Linked DNA regions of Homo sapiens: regions 1, 2, 3, 4 and 6 are each linked to region 5. The links are contacts of gene promoters, found by promoter capture Hi-C in blood cells and fetal thymus (Javierre and others, 2016). All regions are on one chromosome and are shown on one strand. The core of a region is centred on a gene start or on the middle of the fragment in contact, and the rest is flanking DNA. Distances in the headings are between cores, read along the strand shown.

What was found. Contacts are between HindIII fragments. The CHiCAGO score rates a contact against its expected background, and 5 or more counts as called.
Region 1: a fragment that was not itself captured here is called in contact with the fragment with the promoter of CAMK1D in region 5 in 1 of 17 cell types (neutrophils); the score reaches 5.3 in neutrophils.
Region 2: a contact is called between a fragment that was not itself captured here and the fragment with the promoter of CAMK1D in region 5, in 12 of 17 cell types (M2 macrophages, total CD4 T cells, total B cells and 9 more). The highest score is 9.5, in M2 macrophages.
Region 3: a contact is called between a fragment that was not itself captured here and the fragment with the promoter of CAMK1D in region 5, in 11 of 17 cell types (fetal thymus, total B cells, activated CD4 T cells and 8 more). The highest score is 8.6, in fetal thymus.
Region 4: a contact is called between a fragment that was not itself captured here and the fragment with the promoter of CAMK1D in region 5, in 14 of 17 cell types (naive CD8 T cells, M2 macrophages, naive B cells and 11 more). The highest score is 13.0, in naive CD8 T cells.
Region 6: a fragment that was not itself captured here is called in contact with the fragment with the promoter of CAMK1D in region 5 in 1 of 17 cell types (fetal thymus); the score reaches 8.0 in fetal thymus.

Annotation. Positions count from the first base shown.
Region 1 is chr10:12,044,496-12,048,568 of GRCh38, forward strand. LOC105376416 (a long non-coding RNA gene) reads right to left here and starts at 1,582. Exons shown (of 3, transcript XR_930666.2): 1 at 1,406-1,582; 2 at 1,160-1,228. The HindIII fragment of the contact is 1,471 bases long and covers 530-2,000 here.
Region 2 is chr10:12,616,485-12,620,229 of GRCh38, forward strand. All of the region lies in intron 2 of CAMK1D (calcium/calmodulin dependent protein kinase ID), which reads left to right. Among named protein-coding and RNA genes, the nearest start is that of MIR4481, 35 kb to the right of the region's middle. The HindIII fragment of the contact is 2,625 bases long and covers 684-3,308 here.
Region 3 is chr10:12,698,331-12,702,496 of GRCh38, forward strand. The region is part of intron 3 of CAMK1D (calcium/calmodulin dependent protein kinase ID); the gene reads left to right. Among named protein-coding and RNA genes, the nearest start is that of MIR548Q, 25 kb to the right of the region's middle. The HindIII fragment of the contact is 1,700 bases long and covers 1,808-3,507 here.
Region 4 is chr10:12,633,092-12,637,457 of GRCh38, forward strand. All of the region lies in intron 2 of CAMK1D (calcium/calmodulin dependent protein kinase ID), which reads left to right. Among named protein-coding and RNA genes, the nearest start is that of MIR4481, 18 kb to the right of the region's middle. The HindIII fragment of the contact is 7,467 bases long and covers 1-4,366 here.
Region 5 is chr10:12,346,876-12,350,864 of GRCh38, forward strand. It overlaps CAMK1D (calcium/calmodulin dependent protein kinase ID), which reads left to right and starts at 2,672. Exons shown (of 11, transcript NM_153498.4): 1 at 2,672-3,035. The coding sequence starts at 2,944. RefSeq lists silencers at 1,831-2,090, 2,131-2,690, 2,861-2,950 and enhancers at 2,987-3,486, 3,661-3,820. The HindIII fragment of the contact is 10,581 bases long and covers 1-3,989 here.
Region 6 is chr10:12,720,035-12,723,766 of GRCh38, forward strand. The region is part of intron 3 of CAMK1D (calcium/calmodulin dependent protein kinase ID); the gene reads left to right. Among named protein-coding and RNA genes, the nearest start is that of MIR548Q, 3.5 kb to the right of the region's middle. The HindIII fragment of the contact is 1,879 bases long and covers 1,439-3,317 here.

The sequences.
Region 1 (4,073 bases), core at 15-2,514, 300 kb before region 5:
GTTTGCGCCACTGCACTCCAGCCTGGGCGACAGAGGGAGACTCCGTCTCAAAAAAAAAAAAGAGAAAGATGAATACTGCTATTCTGCAGCATTGATAAACAATTATGAGAACTGCCCCAAATACCATATTGGTGATAGCCACCCACGCTTCTCTTCAAGGTTTCCTTTTCCCATTTCATGGGATTACCTTAAGAAGCTTTACTTCTGGCTGGTGCGGTGCCTCATGCCCGTAATCTCAGTACTTTGGGAGGCCGAGGCTGGTGGATCACCTGAGGTCAGGAGTTCCAGACCAGCCTGGCCCCAATATGGTGAAACCCAGTCTCCACTAAAAATACAAAATTAGCCAAATGTGGTGGCGAGCGCCTGTAATCCCAGCTACTCGGGAGGCTGAGGCAGAAGAATCACTTAGAACCCGGGAAGCAGAGGTTGCAGTGAGCCGAGATAGCGCCACTGCACTCTGGACTGGGCAACAGAGTGAGACTCTGCCTCAAAAAAAAAAAAAAAAAGAAAGAAAAGAAAGAAAGAAAAAAGCTTTACCTCTTTGTTAATAAATATAATAAATCCTTCTCATCCTAAATCAAGTCAACCTTTGTCTTTAATCAGGTGTTAAAAGGAAATCACCTAAAATCAAAAAACAGGAGGGCCTTTTTGTTGAGAATTTGCTATTTCACATTTGTGATTTTAGTTCATCGCAATCACCATTTTATAAAAATAGAGTCAGATGAATTTACTATCACAAAACTAATAAGTATACTATCTAGTATTCTCAAATCTAACTCCAAAAACCCAAGTTCTTTCTGCTATGTCTCTATGCAAACTTTTACATAAACTGAGAATGCTGCCAATCATTTTACTTCCAAAGACAGATGTCAAGCTAGCCACCAAAAGCCTGATGTGGGAATATCATTGTAATCTCTTAACTAGAAAAAACACCCCGCTCTGAAGAGGCCATCATTTTTTTATTCGGATAATAATTCAAACTTCATGATTTTCTGAAAATACATTCTCAAGATGAATTTTTGAGAAAAGTCTCAAAAATGTTCATTGTTATTTTTGCCTGCTCCAATTGACAGAACTGTTCTATATGGGGAAAAAAGAGAATGAAACTATTTAGTTTTTATTTAGACCTACACGATACTACTCCCTACTTAAAACCTACCTAGTGGCAGCTTCACAGACGAAAGCAAAGGCCAGGCAAAGAGATTACAATTACGGAGCAGGACAAATCCTGAGTTTAAGGAAAAGAAAAATGCATCAGATGAAGCCAACCAGCTATAACTACAGCCTCTGCCCACTGACCTCAGAGAACTGGGAGTGTTCTGTTCCATGAGGAAATCCAGCTTTGATCTTTTAGAAGCCGATGTTTAACTAACCTAGTTTAAGCTGCTTTTTAAAAAATACCCACCTCTTGGTATATCTCTGGTAGAAATTTTTTCAGCGTTCCCTCTATCTGCTTAACAGTTTCCAAAAGTAAATGTGTTGAGGTGTGTCCCTTCAATATGAAATATAAGCATCGGCCGGGCGTGATGGCTCACGCCTGTAATCCCAACACTGGGAGGCCAAGGCGGGCGGATCACCTGAGGGCGGGAGTTCGAGACCAGCCTGGCCAACATGGTGAAACCCTGTCCCTACTAAAAATATAAAATTAGCCAGGCTTGGTGGTGTGCGCCTGTAATCCCAGCTACTCGGGAGGCTGAGGCAGGAGAATCGTTGAACCCAGAAGGCGGAGGTTGCAGGCAGCCGAGATCACTCCATTGTACTCCAGCCTGGGCAACAAGAGCGAAACTCTGTCTCAAAAAATAAAAAAAGAAAAGAAATGTAAGTATTGAGGGTGCATTTAAACAAATATAAACATACGAAACGTATTAGTACTTATTACCAAATCATGTTGGAATTTCTTGTGGAACTGTAAGATGAAAATCAGTTCACTAACACTGGCTTCTCTGAATTCCACCAAAACAGAACACAAGCAATGTGAGATTAACCTGTTTTATTTTTCAAGCTTTTAATGTGGCTAGTCAAAAAAGTAAATTAATATTGGCTTGGCCGGGCGCTATGGCTGACACCTGTAATCCCAGCATTTTGGGAGGCCAAGGCGGGTGGATCACCTGAGGTCAGGAGCTCGAGACTAGCCTGGCCAACATGGTGAAACCCTGCCTCTACTAAAATACAAAAATTGGCCGGTCATGGTGGCGGGCGCCTGTAATCTCCACTACTCGGGAGACTGAGGTAGGAGAATTGCTTGAACCCAGCAGGCGGAGGTTGTAGTGAGCCAAAATTGCGCCACTGCACTCCAGCCTGGGCAACAAAGCGAGACTCCCTCTCAAAAAATAAATAAATAAATAAATAAATAAAATGATAAGACTTATAAAGTACTTAGAACAGCACTTGGCAAGCAGTGAAAGTCCAATGAATGAGATTACAATCTAATGCAGGAGGTAGATCGTAAATAAACAGATAAAAACTGTGATGGTTAGAATAAATGCTCAAAGGGAAAAAGGGTAACATCATGCAGAGTAACAGGAGAGAGGGAAGAGGGAGGCTGCTTTATAGTCAGGAAAAGGCTCTTGAATGATTTAAAATTTGAGGTAAAACCTGGAGAATTGGAAGTTCCTGGTTATGCAGCTAGAAATGTCAAATGGGCACTTGGAACACAGGGGAGAGCTCCAGCCTAGAGATGAAATTTTGAAAGTCATCCGAACAGACAGTATTTAAAGCCATAAGAATGGATGGGTTCAGGCCAGGCACAGTGGCTCACGCCTGTAACCCCAGCACTTTGGGAGGCCGAGTAAGGCAGATCACTTGAGGTCAGGAGTTTGAGACCAGCTTGGCCAACATGACAAAACCCCATCTCTACTAAAAATACAAAAATTAACCAGGCATAGTGGCGAACGCCTGTAGTCCCCGCTACTCCAGAGGCTGAGGCAGGAGAATGGCGTGAACCCGGGAGGCAGAGGTTGCAGTGAGCCGAGATGGTGCCACTGCACTCCAGCCTGGGCAACAAGAGCAAGACTCCGTCTCAAAAAAAAAAAAAAAAAGAATCGATGGGATCACCCAAGAAACTGCAGCAAAAGAAAAAGGTCCAGGACTCAGCCCTGAGAAACTTCCATATACAGAGGTTAAATATCTAAAAAGGAGACTGAATAAAGAAAGGGAAAACCAGGAGAGTGTGGCGTCATGAAAGCCAAGAAAAGAGGTGCTTCAAGAAAGGAAAAGTGGGAAGCTGTCTTCTGTGTTACTAGGACAGCGAAGAACATGAGGACAGAGAAGTGCTTGTTGCATTAACAATGCGGGAACGAATGCTTACCTTGCAGATGCAGGTCAGTGACGTGGTGGGGACAGATTGGAATGGTTGAACACTAAGTTGGAGATGGAAACAGTGGAGTAATATTTGAGAAATTATGTTGAGAAGAGCAGCAGAAAAATGTAGCCATAGGAAAATGTGAGAAAAGGGAGGAATCTGTTTGGTTTTGCACCTTTTACTTTTGTATATTTTTGGTATTTTTACATGACAGATAAAAGAGGATATGTGGGGGTTTTTTTGTTTGATTGTTGATTTGTTTGAGACAGAATCTCGCTCTGTCGCCCAGGCTGGAGTGCAGTGGCACGATCTTGCCTCACTGCAACCTCCACCTCCCAGGTTCAAGTGATTCTCCTGCCTCAGCCTCCCGAGTAGCTGGGACTACAGGGATGTGCCACCACACCCAGTTAATTTTTTTTTTTTTTTTTGAGATAGAGTCTCACTCTGTCATCGGGCTGGAGTCCAGTGGCACGATCTTAGCTCACTGCAACCTCTGCCTCCCGGGTTCAAGCAATTCTCCTGCCTCAGCCTCCCCAGTAGCTGGGGCTACAGATGCACACCGCCACGCCTGGCTAATTTTTTGTATTTTAGTAGAGATGGGGTGTCACTGTGTTGCCCAGGCTGGTCTCGAAATCCTGAGCTCAGGCAATCCACCCACCTCAGCCTCCCAAAGTGCTAGGATTACAGGCGCCCGCCACCATGCCCGGCTAATTTTGTATTTTTAGTAGAGACTGGGTTTCTCCATGTTGGCCAGTCTGGTCTCGATCTCCTG
Region 2 (3,745 bases), core at 746-3,245, 270 kb after region 5:
AAGTATCTTTTTGTTTGTTTGTTTTTTGTTGTTGTTGTTGTTGTTGTTTTTGAGACGGAGTCTCGCTCTGTCTCCCAGGCTGGGGTGCAGTGGTGTGATCTCGGCTCACTGCAAGCTCCGCCTCCCGGGTTCACGCCATTCTCCTGCCTCAGCCTCCCGAGTAGCTGGGACTACAGGCGCCCGCCACTAAGCCCGGCTAATTTTTTCTATTTGTAGTAGACACGGGGTTTCACCTTGTTAGCCAGGATGGTCTCGATCTCCTGACCTCGTGATCCGCCCGCCTCGGCCTCCCAAAGTGCTGAGATGACAGGCCTGAGCCACCGCGCCTGGCCGAGGTCAAGTATCTTCTCACCAGCTAGAGTAGAGGAGGCAGGGCGGGAACCGAGGTGGTCTCTGTCTTGAGTCCATACATTATAACTGTTGAATTACCGGACACCCACTTCAGTGGCATTTATTCGGTGAAGTGTTTGGGGTGTAGGGAAGGGGTGGTGGTGACTGGAAGTGTAGCTTGGGGATCGCCTTTTTAATATCCCTGTCTAGTCACAAAAATAAGGCATGTTCTAATCAACTAAGCACTTGACCATGAACTTCTCGTAAGCAAGGTGAGTGGTAGATTTTTTTTCCTCAAGGATGCAAGCAGCTGATAGAATTGGGAAGAAAGTTATTAGTTGCAAAAACATTTAAGCTTTGCAGTAAGATTACTAGTGCACCAAAGGAATCGTGACTGTTAAGCCCTCTAGCTGATTAACTGGTGCTGTTATTTTATTTTAAAATGTTGTAATTTTTTCACAACAAGAAAAGTAATGTGTATTCCTAGAAGACAAATGAGGAAAAATACATAAGCAAAAAGAGGAAGAACACTCATAACTCCACTAGCCAGAAATTCCCCGTGTTAACTCTGGCGTCACTTACGGTAAATATCCCCATTCATCTCTTCTTGCTCCCAGAATAAATTAGCAGCAGCTTTTCCTCAGAGCAGGGGAACAAGCCACTTGTGTGGTAGGCAGATATGCAGGCTATGATGGCCAGAAAATAAGCGCACCCCAGGGCGAGGCAGTTTGTATTTTCTGCTTTCGGGGGAGCCGTTTCTTCTCTTTGAGGAGAGAAGTAATTTTCTGTCCCACCTGCATCTGTTTTCTGGCCTTGGGACCAAATGTCAACATCCCTAGTGGTGAGCACGCCCTTCCTTCGGTTTTTCTAGTTGCTGAGATACCTGCCGGGTTAGTTTTTTCTCCTCCAGATTGCATGTCTCTGATTCACCAGTGATAAAAATATTGAACAGTCACAAAAGACATAAATGAGGTGGGGAGAAAAAGCATGTCACTGAAATGCTGGTTTCCACTGGTGAGCTCCTTGAAATCCTGATAGAACTTTTTCCAAATGAAACGTGAAGTGGTATGCTCTTCAGACCATTAATTTTATTAAATAGCCAAACAATTGGATTACAGCCGTTTATCTGTACTGATTTTGCATTGTCATTTCAGAATTATCTCTTTAATTGCTACCTCCTCAGTAAGGTTCAGGGTAGAATGCTGTCACTATTTACGTAATCATTTACATATTTTGTATTAATTCACATTTGTTTTGGATCTAGTATTGAGAGGTGACTTAATTAGATCCAGTGGTTCATGATTAGCAGCCGATTCAGGGCTCTGTGTCTCTCTCTCCTCTTCAACATTTCCTCATTTCCTATTCCTGCCTCCATAGATATCCACTATAATGGACTTGCTAAATCTCTTTGAATACACAGGCATCCTCCTAATTTTTTTTTTCATTTTGTGGTGTGCATGTGTGTGTGAATGTTTGTATTTTTAATTTACATGAATGGCATTCTTCAATAGATTTCATTCTGTTGCTTCGCACTTTCAATGCATGCTCTTTCTAACATCTGTCCGTGCTACTTACTCTGTTTTCTCTAGTTCATTGTTTATAGCTGCTTTTACCCCATTTTATCTTCATCTCCCTGGTGATGGATGACTGAACCGTCTTGCACTTGTGTGTCCATAAAGAGTATCATGGATGAAAACCCTTGTTCATGCCCCTTCAAAGACTCGTGGGGGGATTTTTTGGGAGCCTCATATTCAGAAGAAAGCATACAGTTACTTTTCATTTAAGTATCAGGTAATACTTAATTTCATTAAGCATTGCCAGAGTATTTTATTTTTTACTAAGTATTAATTGAGTACTTTCTATTTTCATCACATTAGGCTTGGTATTTAGAGGGATTCATGGGAAAAAAAAAGAGACTCTTCTCAAGAAGTTTAAACTTTGCGTAGGAAGAAGGCAACAAAAAGAGAATATATGGGTAGTAGTAATAATAGTTGCAGTTTATTTGTCATATACCAATCAGTGACATATATCTTCTTAATACGCATAACCCTGTGAAGGTATATTATTAATTCTGTTTTACTGTTAAAGAAAAGGCAGTTCAGAGTGGCTAAGTAAATTGCCTAAGCATGCACAGCAAAGATGGTGGCAGTGCTGAGGTTTAAACCCAGTTTTCTCTTACTCCAAAGTCTCTCTCTCTCAGTGCTATGCAGTACTACTACCTGAGATGTCTGTTTTTAAAGAAGCCATTGAATCTTTGCATGTAGCAGGAGCTCAATAAATGCTTTTGAATTACTGATTGAAATAATCATGGTAAATGCATTTGAGTGCTGTCTGCTAAGTAGTTTAAGTACTTTATGTCTAGTAAACTGTTCCAATTTCACAGTAATCCCATAAAGCTGGCATTACTGTTATCCCTGTTTTTCTCCTGAGGAAACTAAGGCATAGACAGGGTGAATAATGACCAAATTCACATAGAGCTGGATTTTTTTTTTTTGAGACGGGGTCTTGCTCTGTTGCCCAGGCTGGAGTGCAGTGGTACAATCATGGCTTACTACAGCCTCAGCCTGATGGTCTCAAGTAATTCTTCTGCCTCAGCCCGAGTAGCTGGGACTGCAAATGTACACCACCGTGCCTGGCTAATTTTAGAATTTTTGGTAGAGGAAGGGTTTTACTGTGTTGCCTAGACTGGTCTTGAATTGCTGGCCTCAAGTGATCCTCCTGCTTCAGCCTCCCAAAGTGTTGGGATTATAGGTGTATGCTACCATCCCCTACTTGGATTTTTAAAATTATTAAAAATTACATTTTAATTTTAACATTTTAATTTCAAGATAGTTGTAGATTCACATACAATTATAAGAAATAATATACAGTGAGATCTCATGTACCCTTTACCAAGTTTCCCCAAATGGTAACATCTTACAAAACTGTAGTACAGTATTACAACCAGGATATTGACATTGATACAAGCAGGATACAAAAGCTTCTGGAATTCCTCATGGTGCTCTTTTGTAGCAAACCCACTTCCCTCCTGCATGATCTCACCCCCTGCCTAACCTCAGGTAACCTGTAGTCTCTTCCCCATTTCTATGGTTTTGTCATTTCAAGAATGTTATATAAATTGAATCTTACAATATGTAACCTTTTGGGATCTTCTTTTTCACTCAACTTTCACTGGAGATTTATCGAAGTTGTTGTATGTATCAGTAGTTGTTCTATTTGATAACTGAGAAGTATTTCACAGTTTGAGTGTACCACTTTGTTTAACCATTCACCAGTTGAAGGACACCTAGTTTGTGTCCAGTTTTTGACTATTAAAAAATAAAGCTCTGCAGTCCGCAGTCCGGCCTGGGCGACAGAGCGAGACTCCGTCTCAAAAAAAAAAAAAAAAAAAAAAAAAAAAAAAATAAAGCTGCTA
Region 3 (4,166 bases), core at 1,408-3,907, 350 kb after region 5:
AATACAGGGTTAGTTCACTTCCAGCCTCTGAGAACACATTTTTATAACCTCGTTTTATATATGTCAATACATAACCTGTTTTATGTGTGTTTCTGTTTAAAGACACCTCATTTAATATATGAGGAGACTTCAAAAAGTTCATGGGAAAATGGAATTAACAGGTAAAAAATTTAAATATGAACTTTATTTCTCAAAATAATCTCCATCAAGGTCGGGAGACTTGTAAGTGCTGATAGCAACCATTTAGTTCATCCCTAAAGAACTGAGGGTCCTGGGAACTTAACCATGTCAGTGTGGTGTTTTTTACATTATTAGCTGAAGAAAAATGATGCCCTTTAAAGAATTTTTTTTTTTTTTTTTTGAGACGGAGTGTCGCTCTGTCACCAGGCTGGAGTGCAGTGGTGTGATCTCGGCTCACTGTATCCTCCGCCTCCTGGATTGAAGCGATTCTCCTGCCTCAGGCTCCCAAGTAACTGGGACTACAGGTACGTGCCACCACGCCCAGCTAATTTTTGTATTTTTAGTAGAGACGGGGTTTCACCATGTTGGCCAGGATGGTCTCGAGCTCTTGACCTCGTGATCTGCCTACCTCAGCCTCCCAAAATGCTGGGATTACAGGCATGAGCCACTGCACCCGGCCTAGAGATTCTTTTTTTTAAGATAAGGAAGTAAAAAGAAATCAGAAGGAGCCAAATCAGAGCTGTAAGGGGGATGCCTAATGATGTCCTACTGAAATTCTCCCCAAATTGCCCTTGTGTGATGAGAGGAATGAGCAGGAGCCTTGTTATGGTGGCGAAGGACTCTCTGGTGACCCTTTCTCAGGCATTTTTCTGCTAAGGCTTTGGTTAACTTTCTCAAAACACTTTCATAATAGGGAGATATTATTTTATGGCCTTCCAGAAAGTCAGCAAGCAAAATGCCTTGAGTGTCCAAAAGAACTGTGATCATGTCTTTTGCTGTTGACCGGTCTGCTTTTGCTGTGACTCGACCTCTTCTACTTCTTGGTAGCCATTGCTCTGATTGTGCTTTTTCTGGGAAAAAGCGTTGTACTGGGAAAGCCGTGTTTTGTTTCCTGTTACAGTTCTTCAAGGAAATGCTTCAGGATCTTGATCCTACTTGTTGAAAATTTCCGTTGAGATCTCTGCTCTTGTCTGAAGCTGAGCTGAGCTCAGTGGTTTTGGCGCCCATAGAGTGGAAAGTTTACTCAGCTTTAATTTTTCAGTCAGAATTGTGTAAGCTGAACCAATTGAGATGTCTGTGGTGTTGGTTGTTGCTTCTGCTGTTAATCATTAGTCCTCTACAGTTAGGGCTGTAACTTGAAAAAAAAAAACAAGATGATTTTTTTTTTCCTTGCTGATTGATGAGGACGGTTTGCCGCCGTGGACTTCATCTTCCACATCAACTTGTTAAAACAAGTTATTCATTTGGAAACTGCTGATTTCTTTGGGGCATTGTCCACATAAACTTTTCATAAGGCATCAATGATTTCACCATTCCTCCACACAAGTGTCACCATAAATTTGCAGTTTGTTCTTGCTTCAATTTTAGCAGAATTCATGTTGCTCTGATAGGGGCTCTTTTCAAAATGACGTCTTTTCCTTCTTACTGTCTCAAACTAGATCCTGTCTAAACATGTTGTAGCAAGCTAGTACACATTTATTTTGGTGCAAAAAAAAAATGGAAATTCATGCATAGTTTTTTCGTAATACTCATTTTCCACGAACTTTTTGAAGTCCCTTAGTATATTTTTGATTCATTTAGCATCGAGTTCACAGCCAACAGCACAATATAACCCACAGCTGAACAAAGCTTACATAACACACATATTTTCTCTGTAAGGCGTCATAGATTAGTCCATTCTCATGCTGCTAATAAAGACATACCAGAAACTAGGTAATTTATAAAGGAAAGAGGTTTAGTTGACTCCCAGTTGCGCAGGCCTGGGGAGGCCTCAGGAAACTTAGAATCATGGCAAAGGGGGAAGCAAACATGTTCTTCTTCACGTGGTGGGAGGAAGGAGAAGTGCTGTGCAAGAGGGAGAAGCTCCTTATAAAAACCATCAGATCTTGTGACAACTCAGTATCATGAGAACAGCAGCATGGGGGTAACCGCCCCCATGATTCAACTACCGCCCACTGGGCCCTCCCACCACATGTGGGAATTAAAGGGAACTACAGTTCAAGATGAGATTTGGGTGGGGACACAGCCAACCAATATTACTCAGCCTTTCTGAGCTTAGGAGCACTAAGTAGCTCTGTAGCACTGTGCCTGCGGCCTGTTTCAAACAAAATCTCAAGCAAAAAGCAAACATATATGAAAGACATGGCACGAAATAGCCCAGAGAAAGGACCCTTGTTGACAGTAGGAGAGCTGAAGCAGGAAGGCACAGTGTCATCTTGTTTGACCTCAGCCTGGAATGTGCATGTCCAGTAACTCGAATTTTCTCCCCTCTGCTCCCATGTCCAGGAATGACCACAAAATTGCCACAAGTATTGATTTCTAAGTTTCAAAGAAATTTTAGCCAGCAGGTGAATTTGTAAATACAGATCGGTGAATAATGAGGACTGACCATACTTACATTCTAATGTTCTTAACTAAATATCTTTCTCCACGTATGTATAAAGCATAAAATTTTCTCCTTTCCAGTCTAAAGGTCAGTGCCTAAAGGAGTGAAATGGTGAGAAGGGGCTGGATCCAAGCTGTTATTGGCTATGATTGAAAATTTACTGCTATTTAAAAGTGCATATTTCCACTTTTAAGTTGCCCATAGATTCTTCTTTTTTTTTTTTTTTCTTTTTTTGAGATGGAATTTACTCTTGTCACCCAGGCTGGAGTGCAATGGTGTGATCTCAGCTCACTGCAACCTCCGCCTCCGGGGTTCAAGCGATTCTTCTGCCTCAGTCTCCCGAGTAGCTGGGATCTCATACATTATTCTTTAGTGTCCAAAGGGTTTTTACTTCCAATGGCTTATTTGTGGAATTTATAAACGGAAGTGATTTGCAAACAACCAACAAAAAGCACACCAAAATAACCTGCACAAAGATTACAAAGACTTTAATAAATTAATTACGGTTACTTGTCATCATTTCCCTGTTTTAAGTACACCCCTGAACAGGCCTCAGGCTTCTTCCAGTATGGGCTGGCCTGGGGATGGGGAGGACGAAGGTCTACCCCAGCCCTCTCTGGCCACAGAGGCTGCATTGCCCCCTCTCTTTCAGTTCGATTTTGTTTAAGGCAGTGTGGCTTCTTAAGTGACATGTCTGTGATGATCACCCCAGGCTTTCTACATCAAAATGTTTAAGTATCTATCTTCCAGTGACCTTCATGTCATTTCCCAGTATTCTTTTTAGGAGACTGCCATAAATTCAGGCAGTTTGAGCATTCTCCAAACATACTCATTTGCTTCTAGAAAGGAAATCTATGGTTCTTTTCTCCGAGAGTGGTTACATTCCAGATCTTAGGGGCTGAACGTGACAGAAGTGGATTTCTCATCCATGTACTATTGGAAGCTTGGCTGGGGGCCAGGGGTTCTTCCCCAGCCATGCGTTTGGAGCCCCAGGCAGGCAAGATCCTGCCATATTCCACACATAGATATAGGTATCTCTAGTCAGCAGAAGGGAAAAGGAAATGAGTAGATCAGGTATGTGGGGCAGAGGGCGCAGTTATGAAGACCCTGGAAGCAATGTACATCACTTCTCCCCACATTCCTTGGCCAGAGCTCATTTGTGTGGCTCCCCGTTGGACGCACAGGGCAGGGAGTGGGGGTGCTGGAAATGTATGCCTAGGCTGGGAACCCACTTTCTAGAAGCAGCATTCTGTTCCATCATAGGGGAGCAGGAATCGTGCAGGGACAGCTGGCCATCCCTGGCACACAACGGAAGACGGTGGAGGACGCTGCTCTTGGTGGCGAGGAAGTGAAATTTGTCTAAGCTCTGAGGTCAACCTCGAGGAGGTGAGGTTGTTGGAAACATTCCTGTCAAATCATTCTCATATTCTAGCTAAGCCCCTGTTAAATATGCCACACCTCAGAGGCTTAGAACCCTTTTAAGTTTCAGGCAAACACAGTACAGGGTGTGGGATCTGTTTCTGACACTCTTGAGAGCTACTTGAAGACGGGCTCCATCTGTGCCTCTTGAAACAAAGACACTCGATAAAGGCACACTGAA
Region 4 (4,366 bases), core at 1,107-3,606, 290 kb after region 5:
CAGTCGTTCCTGCTCTGATAGTTACACAGGAGCTGAGCGTGGCGGAGAAGCCATGCGTTTGGATATTGGTTTCATCACTGGAGTGTCATGTTTAGTTGTGGCTGCCACACTTTGGGAGAAGATGGGGAAATTGGAGAGGTACCAGAGAGGAGCAAAAAATAGATGAAAGGATGCATTAGTGGTCCCATGGGAGGAGGTTAATGGAATCCAGGCATTTGTATTTCTTTTTCCCTGAGAAGAAGCTCTGAGTGGTGAGGCAACAGTGCTCCTCAAATAACCGAGGTTTCTGGCTGGTTCCACCTCATCTCCATGGAAGATTGACCTGGAGAAGGTCAACTTCAAGTGCAGCGATAGAGAGCACCTGGGCATGATGCGCTTATTAACAGCGTCCTTATATCCCTGAGCAGACACTCAGGGTGGCTGTAGATACTCGGTTCCGAGGGCTCCGTGAAAACTGAAGAGTTACTCTTTTCTTAATTTTTTGAGGTAGCATCTCACTCTGTTGCCCAGGCTGGAGTGCAGTAGCACAATCATGGCTCAGGGCAGCCTCAACCTCCTGGGCTCAAGCGATCCACCCACCTCTGCCTCCCCAGTAGCTGGGACCACAGGCACGCACCATCATGCCCAGCTAATTTTTATCTTTTTGGTGGAGATGGGGTCTCTCTATGTTGCCCAGGCTGGTCTCGAACTCCTGGGCTCAAGTCATCCTCCTATCTCTGCCTCCCAAAGTGCTGGGATTACAAGCGTCAGCCAACTTTCCCAGCCAGGAGTTACTCTTTTTAAAAGGTAGGCACAGGCCTTTGTGAGGGATGCCCTGACCCTTTTGCAGTGGTTTGACTCTTTGAGGCCGTGGTCCGTGGAGTTTGAAACCTGCACAGAAAGAATATTTCCCGAGTCTGGCACCACCTGGCTTTAGTCAGAGGGATCACCTGAGCTGCTCCAGTCCTCTCTCAGCGGCTCCTGGGGAATTGGGAGGGGGGCTGAGGCATGCTGGTGAGATTCAGGGTGCACTGGCATCAGCTCACAGGAGTTTTTTCTGTCTCTTGAAGAGTGACTTTCAGTCCCATCCTGGGTAAGAACAGCTGTTTTGCATGTTGCTGAGTAATTTCTTTGCAGGTCCTTGTGTCCTAGCATCGTCCTTTCTCACCTGCCTTTATTCTGTTTCACGCTGCACAGTATGGAGTGTGCAGTGATTCATTGGGGAGAGAAGAAAATAAAACCAAAAAGCCCATCTGCTTTGTCAGGAGACACCTCCAAACACAGATGCTCCCTCATCCTCCTACAGCAGCTGTTTTCAGCCACACCTCTGGGCTCAAGCCATCCTCCTGCCTCTGCCCCCAAGTGATCATCCTGTTGTCCCACCCATTGTCCCGTAAGCAGGAGTTCAACAGGGACAGAGCGCGGGGTGGGAGGTGGCTGGAATCATCCCATGGCTTAGTGGTGTGGGGACTAAGGAACTATTGTTCCCTCTCCAGCTGGAGCTGCACATCCATTTTCTGCTGTCAGATGCCATCCATGTAGGAGATGCTCCTTCCAGACAGCCCCCCAGAGCCGCCTGGCTGACCTTCCACTCCCGGGCTGAGTGTCACTACGAGTCTTGACTTTCTCGTCATGCTGGTGTTTCACAACCTTGTAGCTAGAGTCCGGTGCAGCTTTTCTTCCTGCCGGCCCATCAGCTTTCGCTTCTCTCTGCCGCTGGGAGGCAACATCTCGGGGTTCTCCAAGGGGAGGTCTCACCTTGAATGAGTCTGGCATTTTGAGGTCATGATGGTGGCCGGGATTCTGCCCATGTTCAGTGGGACTTGGGTGGCAGCACAAGCAGATGAGGCTTGGTTTTGTTCCATTCTTTGTTTAGTTGCTCACTCATTCCTTCATTTGGCAGATGCCATATACTGTGCTGGAAGAGAGGATGCAGCCGTGACCCAGACAGACAAAGTCTCTGTTTTGATGGGGCGTATGTTGGAGAGTGGAGGGGCAGGGACAGTGGATGATCAACAAGATAATTTTGGAAGCTGATAGGAGCTGTGGGGAACATGAGAGAGGTTGATGTGGGGTGTGGTGGAGGAGGAGAGTTTGGGGGCTCGGGAGGCCTTCCTGTGGGTGGCATAGTGAGAGCCTGGGTATACCTGCCCCGTGGCTGCCCAGGTCTGACCCGGAATCCGGTTGTGTTGGATGGTACCACTGAGAATCGTCATTTCCTGGGACTTCCCATCCGCTTTTCTTGAGAAAGTCACTGCCCTTTTAAGTTGCTTGTTTGTTTTAGTAAACGTAGTCAATGAAGCAGTGAGTCAGTGCAAAACTGTTCAGATGTCACCGATGGGAATAGGTTAGATACAAAGTTGTGTTCATTCACCAATGGCTTGTTGAGTACCCCCTAAGCCCACGGCGCAGTGCAGGAGCTCTTAGATTCAAAGAACTCTGGTCTGGGGGAGGGTGGAGGTGTGAGGATTCCTTTAGAAGAGAGAAGGGACCCACGCCATCTTGCTGGGGGGGAAGAGGCCCTCTGCCTTTCAGATCTATCGGTTCATGGCTTTGCAAATATCAGTATTTGCTAAAAATGAGGCCTACAGATTTTAATGTGGCAAAACGGATTTTATTTCTGAATGTTAACCAAGTTGAGGTTAGGAGTAATGATCTGCAGTGCGAAAAGGGGGTTTTTATCTTATAATGATTAATTCTTTTCTTCCTTCCCTTCTAAAAAAAATGTGATTCCTGATAAAACCTGATGTTTCACTTTATATTTAAATGATACTCCATTGAGCATTTTATTAGTAACAATTCAGTACTTAAATTGCATATTTCAGTTATAAGAGACAATTCACTAGGCTTGCAAGAAAACTATCCTATTTAAAGTAGGAGAAATCTCCCTCTTGATTACTGTGGAGGTTTCTTCATCTAGACATTTTAAACACTTTCCAAACAGTCCTTGCAGTTTTTCTTTTGTATTGTGGCAAAATACACATAACATACAATTTACCATCTTAGGCATTTTTAAGTATCCAGTTCAGTGGCATTAAGTACATTTCACATTGTTATATGATCCTTACCACCATCTGTCTGCAGAGCTCTTTTCATCTTATAAAATACCCTTGGAGGTTTTCCAGTTTCTCTTGCTAGCAGGTATGTTTTAGTTAAGGCAATATACCAGGTTTAGTTAAGGTGCTATACCAGGTATTTTACACATAATCTGATTGAATTCTCACCATAATCCTCTAAGGGGCATATTATATATGTGGTTTTTGTTTTGTTTTGTTGAGACGGTATTTTGCTTTGTCACCTGGGCTAGAGTGCGGTGGCACGATCATAGCTCACCGCAGCCTTGACCTCTGGGGCTCAAGCGATCCTCCCACCTCAGCTTCCTGAGGAGCTGAGACTACAGGTGTGTGCCACCACACCAGGCTATTTTTTGTATTTTTTGTAGTGACGCAGTCTCACTCTGTTGCCCAGGCTGGCCTCAAACTCCTGGGATCAAGCGTTTCTCCCACCTCAGCCTCCCAAAGTGCTGGGATTGTAGGCCTGAGCCACTGTGCCTGGCCTTATATGCAGTTTTCGCCAATGAGGAAACAGACTGAGAGGGGTTGAATAACTTGTTTGAAGTTATACAGCCAGCAGATGTCGGAATGGGCATTTGGACCCAGCTTCCTCCAAAGCTGAGGCTTTTTCTGTTGTTCCACAGTGATTTTCAGTTAGAAGTTTTGATTCTGGCATCTTGCCTTCTGTCAGTAACTGTTTTCAGCACAGAACAGAATACTGTTCACATTTTCTCTGAATATTGGACATGCTTCCTGTGTACTTCAGTGTTCTTGCTCAGGAAATCTGAGGAGCCACCGAGCACCAAAAGAACAGGCATCTGTAAAAGCAACTCAGAATTAAGACCATACTTTTTATTTTTATTTTTTTGATACAGTCTCTCTCTCTCATCCAGGCTGGAGTACAGTGCCTTCATCTCAGCTCACTGCAACCTCCACCTCCCGGGCTCAAGCCATTCTCCTGCCACAGCCTCCCAAGTAGTTGGGATTATAGATGTGCACCACCATGCCCGGCTAATTGTTGTATTTTTAGTAGAGACGGGGTTTCACCATGTTGGCCAGGCTGATCTTGAACTCCTTGCCTCATGTGATCCACCCGCCTCAGCCTCCCAAAGTGCCGGGATTACAGGTGTGAGCCACTGCGCCACGTCCATACTTTATTTCTGAAGATAATTTGGAAACCTATATTTCTAAAATACGACTACTGTAGATACTTCTAGAACATTCTCCCTCTCTCGAAAGTCATGCGTTTGTTCTCAACTCTCACAGAAGGAAGTAGGTCCCTTCAGTGTTGCGATTACCTTCCTGCCTGTTGAAGACAGCCTCTGCGTCTTTCT
Region 5 (3,989 bases), core at 1,422-3,921:
TGTCAGGTGCTGGGAAACAGTGGCGAGAAAGTTAACAGGTGCCTTGCTCTCATGGAGCTTATAGCCTGGTAGGAAAAGTCACGGCCACAGGCCACGTGGAAGTTCTCATTTGCTTTCCCTTCATCTTTACTGTTCCTGTAAAATTGCCTTCTTTCTTTTTTTCTAATGGTTATTTTTATAGATTTAGGGGTACAAGTGCAGTTTTGTTACATGGATATATTGCGTAGTGGTGAGGTCTGGGCTTTTAGCTTAACCATCACCAGAATAGGGTACACCATGCCCATTAGTTAATTTCTCATCCCTTCCCCTACCCCACTCCAATGTCATTATTCCACACTCTCTGTCCACATATACACATTATTTAGCTCCCACTTCTTCTCCTTTTTTTTTTTTTGAGATGGAGTCTTGCTCTGTCGCCAGGCTGGAGTGCAATGGTGCAATCTTCGCTCACTGCAACCTCCTAGGTTACAGTGATTCTCCTGCCTCAGCCTCCTGAGTAGCTGGGATTACAGGCATGTGCCACCATGCCTGGCTAATTTTTATTTTTAATAGAGTTTCACCATGTTGGCCAGGCTGGTCTTGAACTCCTGACCTCAGGTGATCCACTGGCCTAGGCCTCCCAAAGTGCTGGGATTACAGGCGTGAGCCACCATGCCTAGCCTTAGCTCTCACTTCTAAGTGAGAACATGTGGTATTTGACTTTCTGTTTCTGAGTTATTTCACCTAAGATAATGGCCTTCAGTTCCAACTGCGTTGCTGCAAAAGACATGATTTCATTCTTTTTTATGGCCGGGTAGTAGAGAATCAGCACTTCTTCAGCTGTGGGGATAATAGCTGAGAATGAGAATTGTTTTCATGAGCTCTGGCGGCTGTTCCTGAGGCCAGGCAGCAAGGGCAACATAGCAGAGAACCAAATAGGAAAAGAGGAGAAGGAAACACAGTGGGAGGAAGGGAAGGAGAAAGAAAGGACAAGAAGATGCTGACTGTAGGCATGAGAAAGCGACAGTTGGGATCTTAGTTGACTTATGCCCTGGTTCCCACTGTTTGTATTATCTAACCTTTGGCACAAGTAAAATACATGATAGTTTTTCAAATGTTTCTTATTGAAGGGGATGCTGTTTGCCTTGAACTTTGGTAATGTGCCTCAAGTATAAGAGAGGTTCCTTAGTAATTCTTCTCACCCATCCGTGTTGGAAATTGGGTTTGTGGATTTATTCTACATCTAACCGGCAAGTAAATCCCCTCTTTGCTCTTCTCAGTTTGGAAAACCTTAAGCTAACCGTCTTTGAAAGATGGAAACTAGCATGGAGGTCCCAGGAATGGGGATGCCAGGGTGTCGTCTGACCTCTTTAGGGTCAGAGTAGGGGCTGAGGGAGAGCAGCTGGGCTGCCTCCACTTCAGCCAGAGTCAGAACTAGGCACAAGGTGCTGGATGAAGTTTCCTATTCAGGGAGCAGATTTTTTTTTTCCTTTTACAGTGAAATTGGAACAGTCCTGGGAAAATGGGACAGGTGTCCCCAGTCAAGAGACAGAGCTGTTTACCCAACTACGAGGAGAGGCCCTGAGGGAGGCGAAGTGTTGATACCAAGAAATCTAAAATTTTCCGATCAAGAGGTCGCCCCTGCAGGTTGGGGACCAGGGAACTGGAGCACGTGGGCTGCCCTCTGACAGGTGGACACCAGGAGTGGGGCGGGCAGGCCAAAGTACAGCTGGGAGATGGGAGTCCGGAGGGAATTCTCTGGGTTAGTTTTGGCAGTCCATAGGAAAGCAGGTGCCTGCCCCGCAACCCGGACACCCTACTAAGCCAGCCGCGGGTGGGCTCCTCCTTCGAGGGGACTGCGGGGCAGACGATCACTTCTTTCCACTGAGTCTCTGGGAGGAGACAGGGAGATGCCAGAAGGGGCCAAGCGTGAGCCAGGGCAACCAGGCCGGCCAGGCCCGCCGGCCGCTCCAGCCCAGCACCAGGGCGCCCGCGCGGCTGCCAAACACCCCCGGGAGTTTTGCTCGCAAAGGGACCACGAGGCAGCTGCTGGCGCGTCCTGCGCGTACCCGCCCAGAGGCTCCCCGGCTTGCTCCTCGCGGGTCTGTCCCGAAACTGACGTGAAACCGATTTGGTGCAATGCGAATGAGCTCCCGCCCGCCTCCGCCTCCATCCCAGCCGCCGCCGCCGCCCGTCGCCATAACAACCGGCCCCCACCCCCCCCACCCCACGCCTTGCCCCTCGGGTCCCCCGGGCCACAGGCCACAGCGCGGGAAGGCGCCCCGCCCTCGGCGCCCCGCATCCGGCCGCCGCGCACCCCCGCCCGCCCGGCGCTTCCGAGCCACGCAGAGGCGCCCCCTCCCGCCGGAGACGGGAAAGCCCCGGCGCCCCCAGACTGGGCTCCGTTTCCAGCTCCCGGAGGGGCTGGGGCTCTCCCGCGTGCGCCCCGCACCTGCCGGGGGCCCGTACCCGCCCTCGCCGGGGCTCCAGGGGGCACGACGGCCGTGGCCCGGCGCTCTTGGGAGGGGAGCGGGACATCCCCGAAGGCGGCGCGCTGGAGGCGGGGAGCGGCCGGGGCGCACGGAGAGGGCGGGGAGCCCGCGGGAGGGGGAGGAGGGGGAGGAGGGGGAGGAGGCGCGAGGTGGGGGGGAGCGCGGCGGGCGGCAGGGAGGGAGCGGGAGGGAGGCAAGAAAGTAGCAGAAAGTGAGGCTGGCAGGCGGCGGCAAAGGAGCCGGCGCGCGGCGGCGGCAGGAAGTCTGTGCCCGAGAACAGCAGAAATAAGAGCCAGGGAGGGACCGCGGCCGCGGCGGCGGCGGCGAGAGCGAAAGAGGAAACTGCAGAGGAGGAAGCTGCGCCGCAGCCCGAGCCGCCCGGCATCCCCGCCGCCTCTGCGCCCGCGCCGCGCCCCCGGCGCCCCCTCCCCAGCGCGCCCCCGGCCGCTCCTCCGCGCCGCGCTCGTCGGCCATGGCCCGGGAGAACGGCGAGAGCAGCTCCTCCTGGAAAAAGCAAGCTGAAGACATCAAGAAGATCTTCGAGTTCAAAGAGACCCTCGGAACGTAAGTGGGGACCGGGGAGGCGAGGGTGGAGGTGGCCGCGGCAGGGGCTGCACGGGCAGCTCCAGCTGCCGCCGCCGCCACTACCGCGGCAGAAACCCAGCCTGTCACCGCGTCCTCATTGTCCCGTTCTCGGCGCTGCGGAGCCCCCCCGAGCGCGCCCGACGCGTGGGCCTGCGACCCCCGGGTGGGCGCCGTTCCCGGGAGGGGGAGGGGGCAGCGCCGGGCTGTCAGGGAGCAGCCCACGCGGGCGCGCGACTTCCCACTTCTCCTGCCACCGCCGCCCTCTCCGCTGCCTTCTCCCCACGCGTGACTGTGGGCTGAGCATGGTGGGGATGGCTGTTTACCGGCTGTGTGCGTTTACTCGCCGTGTGCATGGGCGCACCGCGTTGGCGAGACGTGGTCACGAGAAGATCAGCCTCCAGTCGTTCCCATTTCTGTCCTTACATCATGTATTTCTATGGAATTGGCATCTGCACGTACGAGGTGTAGGCAAGACTTTGGGTGGCCACGCGAGGATGGAAGGGAAGGGCTTCGCAGTGCTCAGGGTCACACGTGGGCAGAGCCTCACCGGAGGGTCTGTGCATTTCACGCGGGCTCGGCCGCACGCGCCGGGGAGCGCGTCTCCAAGGGAGGGTCTGTGCGCGTCGCTGCGCGGGCGGTGCTCTCTCCGGGCTGCATCGAGTCCCATGCTGATGGCTGTGTCTCAAGAAAGCAGAAATAATCCGAAGTCGATGGCAGGAACGCTCCAAGCATGTGCTGCTCAGCTCAGCTGCTGTTCCCTTTCTGCCCAGGAGTTGGGTCTTGTTTGTTTTGTTTCGGAGCGGCTCAGAATAGGTGGGGAGGCTGATAGTGAAAGAGAATCAGGACCTGCCGAATGAGTCTGAAGTTCAAGTTATTTCCTTCCCTCACACAATCAGTATTTGCTCTGCATCAGTATCTGTCAGTGTGGATTCA
Region 6 (3,732 bases), core at 1,128-3,627, 370 kb after region 5:
GAACAAGCTCCCATGTGATACCAAGGACTGGTCCAAGGACAACCCTTTGAGTAGCAAGACCTTTAAGAACATGCTTCTAATACCCAGCTGTTGTCACCTGGAAGGAGGGATGCCTTTGGAGGTGAACAACAGAGCCACTCAAACGCTTTTCCATCTGAACCACAGAGGACTGGATGTCACTCAGGACTCATGACTTGAATTAGGGTATAAAAGAACCCAGCCTGGTCCGTCTGCAGAATTCCTAGCGAAGAGTCACTCTTGGGGTATCAGTGAGAGAAGAGGCTGGGCATCAGAGCATCATGGAGACAATGTGCCTCTTGGTCTTAGGCCTTCATTTACAGATGATTTTAGACAGTCCCATTAAAGACACAGTTCCCTTGAACTTCACAGACATGCTGAGTGATGACAAACCTTGGCAGGTCTGTGACCAGTTTCTTCCAACAAGTTACTTCTAGGCATTCCTACTAATCTTTCAACCCACTCATTGCTTAAGGGTAATAAGATCTAGAGATGACGTGGTAGATAAGACTGTTGACACATTCTCTAATCTTAGCTAAGCAAACAGAGACTCATTGTCCCAAGCCAGTGGCTGGCACAGTGCCCTGAATGTCTTAACAGAGTTTGACAGGGAAATAGGAGCCCTTCAACCCTTTTTTGAGATTGAAACTACAAGAGTGAGAAGATTATTTTTCCCTCTCGAATGGCCCCGAAGAATCAATAAGGATTCAAGGGTTTTCCTCTCCACGGTAAGGAGATTGTTCTTGGCAAGTTATGCTGAGAAGCCTGTTGTGTGCCTTGTCCTCCCTCAGTCATTTCAGCCTTAGAATTGAATTAACTGCAGGCCCAAGGACATAAATGAACCACGTGAGTCATTTTTCAAAAGTGAACGACAGGGCACCTGTCTTCTGGAATTGGTGAATCCATTCAGCGGAGACTCTTGACAAGGCTTTGTGTGAGATGATATAAATAGGCCCTGACCTGCAGGGCTTTTGTTGTCTTTGGGTGAGATAGAGACATTTGTACACAAATAATCACAAACTGGCTAAACTGTGCCACGTGATTAGCAAACATGCGCATGCCCAATCAGCGAGATCTTCACGGTCAAGGGGCTAATGTCTAGAGAAGCTTGGACGTACAGAATAGCGTGGCCGTTAGTCTTATATCCTGTCGTGGTTCCCCACACATTTCAATTACTCGATAAGTAATTCGAGACCAGTCACAGGCTTTTTTCTCACTTAATGGACAGCCTTGATGAGGGCTAGCAATTTCTTCACTTCTTGTTCCAAATATAACCAACTTATAAAAACACCTTCTGGAACTCCATACAGGGAAGAATAGGATTTAATCACAGGAAATGTATCGGCGGGCTGTGCATTACTCAATTTAGCACTGTTGGGAGCAGATCAAAATCTGGGATCCATGGTATTAGATGGCTCCAAGCTTCAAAATTTTGTGTTCTTTCACTGGCTACCATCCACCATCCATCCATCCATCCATCCATCCATCCATCTATCCATCCATCCAAAAAATATTTACTGAGCAGCTACTAGGTGCCAGGGCCTTTGTAGGCATCAGGAATATAGTAGTGAACAAAATAGACAAGGACCCTGTGCTCACAGAGCTTATTACCTAGCAGAGGGTAACCCGTAGTAACAGGTACACACATGCATGAACTAGGTGCCTCCAGATAGTAGTCATTAGGCCACATGGCTCGATGGGAAATGACTAGGGGGAGATTAGGGTTGTGTGGACCAGTGCCTCCTTTGATAGACAAGCACTGGTTACGGACATGGCCCTAGACTCCAGGTGTCAGAATTACCACTGTAGACCTAATGTCTATAACAGAGGTTTTAGACAGTAGGAGTTTTTAACAGTAGGAGTTACTGAAACCCCTCGCTGCCTTCTAAGTGCAGCAGGCTCTATAACAAGAGGGGGCTCTGTTTCCCTAAGTGAGGTAGCTTTCTGAGGTCCCTTTTATAAGGGCGTTAATCCCATTCACAATGGCTCCACCCTCATGACCTAATCACCTCCACAGGCCCCCCATTCCTAACACCATCACCTTGGGTGTTAGGATTTCAGTATATGCATTTTGGGAGACAGTCCATGGTAGACTTTAAGATAACTCCAGGCTGGGCGCGGTGGCTCACGCCTGTAATCCCAGCACTTTGGGAGGCTGAGGCGGGCGGATCACGAAGTCTGGAGATCGAGACCATCCCGGGGATAACACAGTGAAACCCCATCTCTACTAAAAATACAAAACAATTAGCCGGGCTTGGTGGTGGGTGCCTGTAGTCCCAGCTACTAGGGAGGCTGAGGCAGGAGAATGGTGTGAACCCAGGAGGCAGAGCTTGCAATGAGCCAAGATTGTGCCACTGCACCTCCAGCCTGGGCAACAAAGTGAGACTCCGCCTCAAAAAAAAAAAAAAAAAAAAAAAAAAAAAGATAACTCCAAAGAATTTGAAAAGTAGTGTAAGTTACAAAGTTATCCCCTAGAAGTTATAGAAATTTGCCCTTCAGCATCCTCATCTGTAAGTGGAGAAAATGATACTTCATAGAGAAGTTATGAGGAATTCTTAGCCAAACACTGGGCACACAATAGCCATTTGGCAAATGTTGGTTTCTTCCCCTCCGGCCTACCAAAGGATCTGGACGAGGTCAGTTCAAAGGTCCTTACCATTTAAACTTGAAGCTATAAGATTAAAATCCCTGTCCTAACAGAGTTTCTAGCATTAAGGCGGAAACAGAAATGTAAGGCATGGCCCTGATCACTAAAAAGGATGTGATCTATTGGGAACTACTTGGAACAAGAGTGAGAAGTAGAAGAGAGTAAAGAGTCAGGAAATGTGATTTAATAAGTATGTGACAGAATATTGAAAGTGTTCATTAGTATATCTCTAACGGAGGTATAATCGGTGCTCTCGGGGCAGGTGGAAAATGGTGTGGGCTGGAATTTGAGTGTAGATGGGAAAAGGCAGAAAGGAAGGTGTTCCGGAGTCCACATGGGAGGAAGAACTATGTGAACACCACATGGGGAAAAGAAGAAATGGACGTGAAGAGGCTAAAGTCCCAGGGTGTCAGGCAGTGGGCTTGTGTATTGCAGGCCCACACGTCTTAAAGCAATCTCATTGAGTCACACTTAATTAATTGAGAATTTATCATTATTTGGAAGGAGGCAGGCTGCAGTTTGGGAGAATTGAGATTTATTAGGTGTTTGAACGGTCTGAACGGGAGAATTGTAGAATTTTTGCTTTAAAAGGAAAAGATGTCTGACCTCTTCCATGTAACAGATGAGGCATCTGCAGCTCACAAGGTTAGAAAGCTTCCCTGACCTCACACAGATGGTAAATGACAGAACCCAAACTAATTAAATCCTGCATTTCCCTGAATCGTTTTTGGGGCATCTCATCTCAGAAAAGGAGGGGAAGGTTATCTACTTAAGGAAGGTTATCTACTGAAAATACCGCAGTAGTATTGATTACATTAAGGCATACAGGAATTGCAATATGGTACAGATGAACATGCATCTTTTGCTAATGTGTAAGCTCATCACTAATCAGCCTACTTATGAATGAAAGCAAGACCTCCAAGAGGCAGAATAGTTACTATGTAAATTGAAAGGCATTTTTTTCTATTAAAATACATCATAAATAATTATGTTTATATCCTTGCAGTAGTTTAAAACTCTATTAGCAGGTTTTGTTGTTGTTGTTGTTTTGACATTCTTTTTTTATA